2 separate regions of the Homo sapiens genome follow, and region 1 is linked to region 2. Evidence: promoter capture Hi-C in human tissues and cell types (Jung and others, 2019). All regions are on one chromosome and are shown on one strand. Each heading gives the region's core, a stretch centred on a gene start or on the middle of the fragment in contact. The rest is flanking DNA. Distances are from core to core; before and after follow the strand shown. Region 1 has its middle 15 kb from the start of BCDIN3D. Region 2 holds the start of C1QL4 (complement C1q like 4).

The links. The method cuts DNA at HindIII sites, captures the fragments that hold promoters and counts their contacts. A contact is called where the count stands out against the background at its distance.
Region 1: a contact is called between a fragment that was not itself captured here and the fragment with the promoter of C1QL4 in region 2, in 1 of the 25 tissues and cell types used here (lymphoblastoid cells).

What each region holds. Positions count from the first base shown.
Region 1 is chr12:49,856,592-49,859,291 of GRCh38, reverse strand. No RefSeq gene overlaps it. Among named protein-coding and RNA genes, the nearest start is that of BCDIN3D, 15 kb to the right of the region's middle. The HindIII fragment of the contact is 5,384 bases long and covers 1-2,700 here.
Region 2 is chr12:49,335,921-49,338,620 of GRCh38, reverse strand. C1QL4 (complement C1q like 4) reads left to right here and starts at 1,433. Exons shown (of 2, transcript NM_001008223.2): 1 at 1,433-2,680. The coding sequence starts at 2,144. RefSeq lists a silencer at 1,260-1,669 and an enhancer at 2,038-2,700. The HindIII fragment of the contact is 14,355 bases long and covers 1-2,700 here.

The DNA.
Region 1 (2,700 bases), core at 86-2,585, 520 kb before region 2:
CAAAGTGCTGGGATGACAGGTGTAAGCCACTGAGCCTGGCCACTTCATTCCTTTTTATTGCCAAATAATATTCTATTGTATGAATAGACCACATTTTATGTATCCACTCATCAATTGATGGACATTTGCTTTCACCTTTGTCTATATGAGTAATACTGCCATAAACATTCCTGCTTTTTGTGGGGATGTGTTTTCACACCTAGGAGAAGCATTGCTGTGTCATATGTACCTATGTTTAACTTTTTGAGGAACTGCCAAGTTGTTTTTCGAAGAGGCTGCACCATTTTATATCCCATCAGCAATGGATGAGGGGTTCCAATTTCCCCACATCCTTGCCAACTTGTTGATGTCTGTCTTTTAAATTTTAGCCCTATTTGTGGATGTGAATTGGTATCTCATTATGGTTTGAGTTTGCATTCCCTAACGAGTAGTGATGCTTAGTATCTTTTCATGTGCATAGATTGCTTTTTGTTCACAGATTACTTTTAAATTACAAAGGAGAGGTCTGGCACAGTGGCTTACACCTGTAATCCCAGCACTTTGGAAGACTGAAGTGGGTGGATCGCTTGAGTCCAGGAATTCAAGACCAGTCTATGCAACATGGTGAAACTCTGTCTCTATTAGAAATACACAAATTAGCTGAGTAGCACATGCCTATAGTCCTAGCTACTTGGGAGGCTGAGGTGGGAGGATTATTGGAGCCTAGGAGGCAGAGGTTGCAGAGAGCCGAGATCATACCACTGCACTCCAGCCTGGGCAGAGCGAGACCCTGTCTAAAAAAAAAGTTACAAAGGAAAAAATGATAACACTACATTAGAGAAAACTGTTAGGTTCCAACTTAATCATGAATCACAAATAATGGCACAAATTGACACTATGTGTTTTCTGATATGATGTGCTGAGAAGGACAAAAATATACTTTATAACACTTCTGCCAAAAAAATGCAAAGCCGGCTGGCAGGATGTCTCACATCTGTAATCCTAGCACTTTGGGAGGCCAAGGCAGGAGGATTGCTTGAGCCCAGGCAGTGAAGGCTGCAGTGAGCCAAGTCTATGCCACTGCACTCCAGCCTGGGCGACAGAGTGAGACTCTATTTCAAAAAAAAAAAAAAGAAAGAAAGAAAGAAAAAAAGAAAGAAAGAAAAGAAGAAGCAAAGCCTGAATCTTATCATGAAGAAATATTAGACAAAACCAAATTGAGGGTGGTGCAGCGGCTCACACCTGTAATACCAGCACTTTGGGAGGCTGAGGCAGGTGGATCACTTGAGGTCAGAAGCTCGAGGTCAGGAGCTCGAGACCAGCCTGGGCAACACGGTGAAACTCCATCTCTACTGAAAGTACAAAAATTAGCTGGGCATAGTGGCACATGCCTGCAGTCCCAGCTACTCGGAAAGCTGAAACATGAGAATTGCTTGAACCTGGGAGGCGGAGGTTGCAGTGAGCCGAGATCACGCCACTGCACTCCAGCCTGGGCGACAGAGTGAGACTCTGTCTCAAAAAAAACCCAACAACAACAAAAAAAAACAAATTGAAGGATATTCTGCAAACTAAATGGCCTGTTTTCCTCAAAAACGTTCCGAAATGTAGGCTTCTGGTGGCATCTCCAAAGGAGGCTATACTCACAGTTGTAATATTTGAGTAATATTAAAACTACTTAATTTGTTTAATGTTGATTAAAATATATATATGCACACACATTTTATGTTTACTTATGAATAGAAAAAACCCTAGATGGATATATATTAAAATGTTAGTTAGGCAAAGCTATCCTGAGCAAAAAACAAAACTGGAGGAATCACATTATTTGACTTCAAATTATACTACAGAGCCATTATAGTAACCAAAACGGCATGGTACTGGTATAAAAACAGATACATAGACCAATGGAACAGAAAAGAAAACCCAGAAATAAATCCATACATCTACAGTGAACTCATTTTCAACAAAGTTGCCTAGAATATACATTAGGGAATGGACATTCTCTTCAATAAATGATGCTGGGAAACTGAATATCCATATGCAGAAGAATGAAACTAGGCCTCCATCTCTCAACATATACAAAAATCAAATCAAAATCGATTGAAGTCTTAAATCTAAGACCTCAAACTATGAAACTACTAAAGGAAAACACTGGGGAAACTCTCCGGCACATTGGGCTGGGCAAAGATTTCTTGAGTAATACCCCACAAGCACAGGCAACCAAAGCAAAAATGGACAAATGGGATCACATCAAGTTAAAAAGCTTCTGCACAGCAAAGGGAACGATCAACAAAGTGAAGAAACAACCCACAGAATGGGAGAAAAAATAGTTGCAGACGATCCATCTGACAAGGGATTAATAACCAGAATATATAAGGAGCTCAAATACCTCAATAGGAAAAAAATCTAGTAATCCAATTAAAAATGGACAAAAGATCTGAATAGACATTTCTCAAAAGAAAACATACAATGGCAAACAGGTATATGAAAAGGTGCTCAACATCATTGATCACCAGAGATATGCAAATCAAAACTACAATGAGATATCATCTCATCCTAGTTAAAATGGCTTTCATCGGAAAGATGGGCAATAACGCATGCTGGTGAGGATGTGGAGAAAAGGGAACCCTCATACTCTGTGGGTGGGAATGTAAATTACTACAACCACTATGGAGAACAGTCTGGAGGGCCCCCAAAAAACTAAAAGTAGAGCTACCTTAT
Region 2 (2,700 bases), core at 184-2,683:
AGTCCCCTCTTACAGGAGGGTGCCTAGCACCTAATCTGCATTTTACTTACATTAATTTGCATGGCCAACTTCAACCCCCACCCAAATACCCATTATGTGGGATCCAACTTCTCTGGGTTTCATCTAACAACAAACTCTTGAAGAAGGAGGAAGGGGCAGAGACTCCTGGGACTGGATAAGTCTGGGACCAGGGCAGGGGTGGCATTGGGCTGAGCTGGGCAGGGCAAATGAGAAGACAGCTGTCTTCTGACTTCCTCTCTGTCCAGTAGAGTCCTTCATTCTCAGTCCCAAGGTAGGAAAAATGGCATTTGTGGGCTCCAAATTGAGGGACTAGGAGGAAGACAAATACAAATACCTCCCTTCAAACAGCCCTCACATATACATACACAAAGACAACACACAATCCACAATCGCACTCACCCAGGGACACACAGGGCCAGGATCCCATGGCCACCTCCACACTTTGGAGCACACTGTCACAATGCACAGGCCCAGAGCCTAGCACTGCTGGCAGAGCCGCCCTGCCCCCGCATCTTCCCCACAGTTGATATGTCACATTGGAGTCCAAACACGGACCTGGGTGTCTCTCTGCAGCGCGCCATTTACATTTCTCTCTCGATCTGTCAACCTGTCCCGGCTCTGTCTCTCTTCCTCTGTCTCTGTCTCTCCCTCTCCCCCTCTGGGGCTGTCAGTCCGTCTCTTTTCGAAGCTTTGTCTCTGTCTCTGCATCTCTATCTAGCTTTCCTTCTCTTTGATTTCTGTCGCTCCTTCTCTGCTTTCTTGTCGGTTTCTTGCTTGCTCCCCCGGGCTGATCTGTTCTCTTATTTTCTCTCTCTCTCTCTCTCTCTCTCTCTCTCCACACAAACACACACACACACACACACACACACACACACACACACACTCCGCTCCGCGCCCCAATACTGAGGGGTGGGGGTAGGGTTGGCTAGAGATTTGCCTTTTCCAGTTCAGGCCAACTAGTATCAGTTGAATCCTTTACCATGTTATTCGGTCACGGGCGCTGAGGTGCGTGGGGTGGTGAATTTCTATCTTTTCTAGCCCTTCTTATTTTGTTTTCTGTTTGTTTGTGAGGTCCCTCCCCCTCATTTTAGCTCGGGAATCTACCCCTGTCTTCTCTGCGTGTTTGTATCTTGACCCCTCTTTATCCCATCGCTGTTTTGGGTTTCCTCTGGCCTCTGAGAATGCCAAACTCCGGGTAAAGGGTAAAAGTAAAGATACAGCGGGGGCCGCGAAACCCTGAAGAACCCGCTCAGAGCCGGGAAGGAACCTAGGGGCAGTGGGGGAGTGGAGGGGAGGCGGGGAGGACGTGGGTGGGGGCCGCTGCCTGCCCCGCCCCCGCACTTCCCACTCTGGGCACCAGGGGTCGCTCCGCCTCTGGCCGCTTATAGTGGCTCCCGCCGCGCGGCGCCTCATACCACCCGCGCCCGGGAGGGAGGGGAGGAAGGTTAGGGAGGCGGAGAGGGACCGCGCCCGCAGGAGAGAGGCGCGGGCCAGGGCTCTAGCAGGGACTGGGGCCGCGGCAGGGGTAGCAAGGTGAGTCGGTGCTTGCCAAGAGGCAGAGCGCAAAACCTACTAGGAGATCGCGCCCGGTGAGCAGCACCCGCAGCTCAGAGCCCGGGACGTCCGGAGCGCGGGGAGCAGTCCCCTCTCCATCAGGGAGTGGTCTATCTGGGCAGTCTGGGACCCAGGCACCGCGCCATCCCTGAGAGAGCAGCAGTCTGGAGAGCAGGCATCTCAGATCCCTAAGAAACCAGCCGTCCGAGAAGCCGCGGATCTCAGGTGCCCAGGATCGTTAGGACTGAACGGGAGGGTACTAGAGGACCACTGGCTCTGGACCGTCGGGAGCTGCCCCTGACGTAACCCACGAGGGGCCTCCCCTTGACGGACGGCTTGGGGAGCGGCACCGCCGCGGCTGGAGCCCGCAGAGGCAGGGTAAGGGGAGCGGGGGGCAGCCGTCGGGGGAGTGCAGACCCAGGCCCAAGGCGGGTCACCGCCTCCTGGCCCGCGGAGAGCCCCGGCCCCGGCAGCCATTGCGCCCAAGAGTGAGGAAGATTTGCTGGCCCTGGCAGCGTCGCGGCTGAGCCGCCGCAAGAGGGTGGCGGGCGCGGCCGTCGGAGTGGCCATGGTGCTGCTGCTGCTGGTGGCCATCCCGCTGCTGGTGCACAGCTCCCGCGGGCCAGCGCACTACGAGATGCTGGGTCGCTGCCGCATGGTGTGCGACCCGCATGGGCCCCGTGGCCCTGGTCCCGACGGCGCGCCTGCTTCCGTGCCCCCCTTCCCGCCAGGCGCCAAGGGAGAGGTGGGCCGGCGCGGGAAAGCAGGCCTGCGGGGGCCCCCTGGACCACCAGGTCCAAGAGGGCCCCCAGGAGAACCCGGCAGGCCAGGCCCCCCGGGCCCTCCCGGTCCAGGTCCGGGCGGGGTGGCGCCCGCTGCCGGCTACGTGCCTCGCATTGCTTTCTACGCGGGCCTGCGGCGGCCCCACGAGGGTTACGAGGTGCTGCGCTTCGACGACGTGGTGACCAACGTGGGCAACGCCTACGAGGCAGCCAGCGGCAAGTTTACTTGCCCCATGCCAGGCGTCTACTTCTTCGCTTACCACGTGCTCATGCGCGGCGGCGACGGCACCAGCATGTGGGCCGACCTCATGAAGAACGGACAGGTGAGATGCCCCTCTCCCCA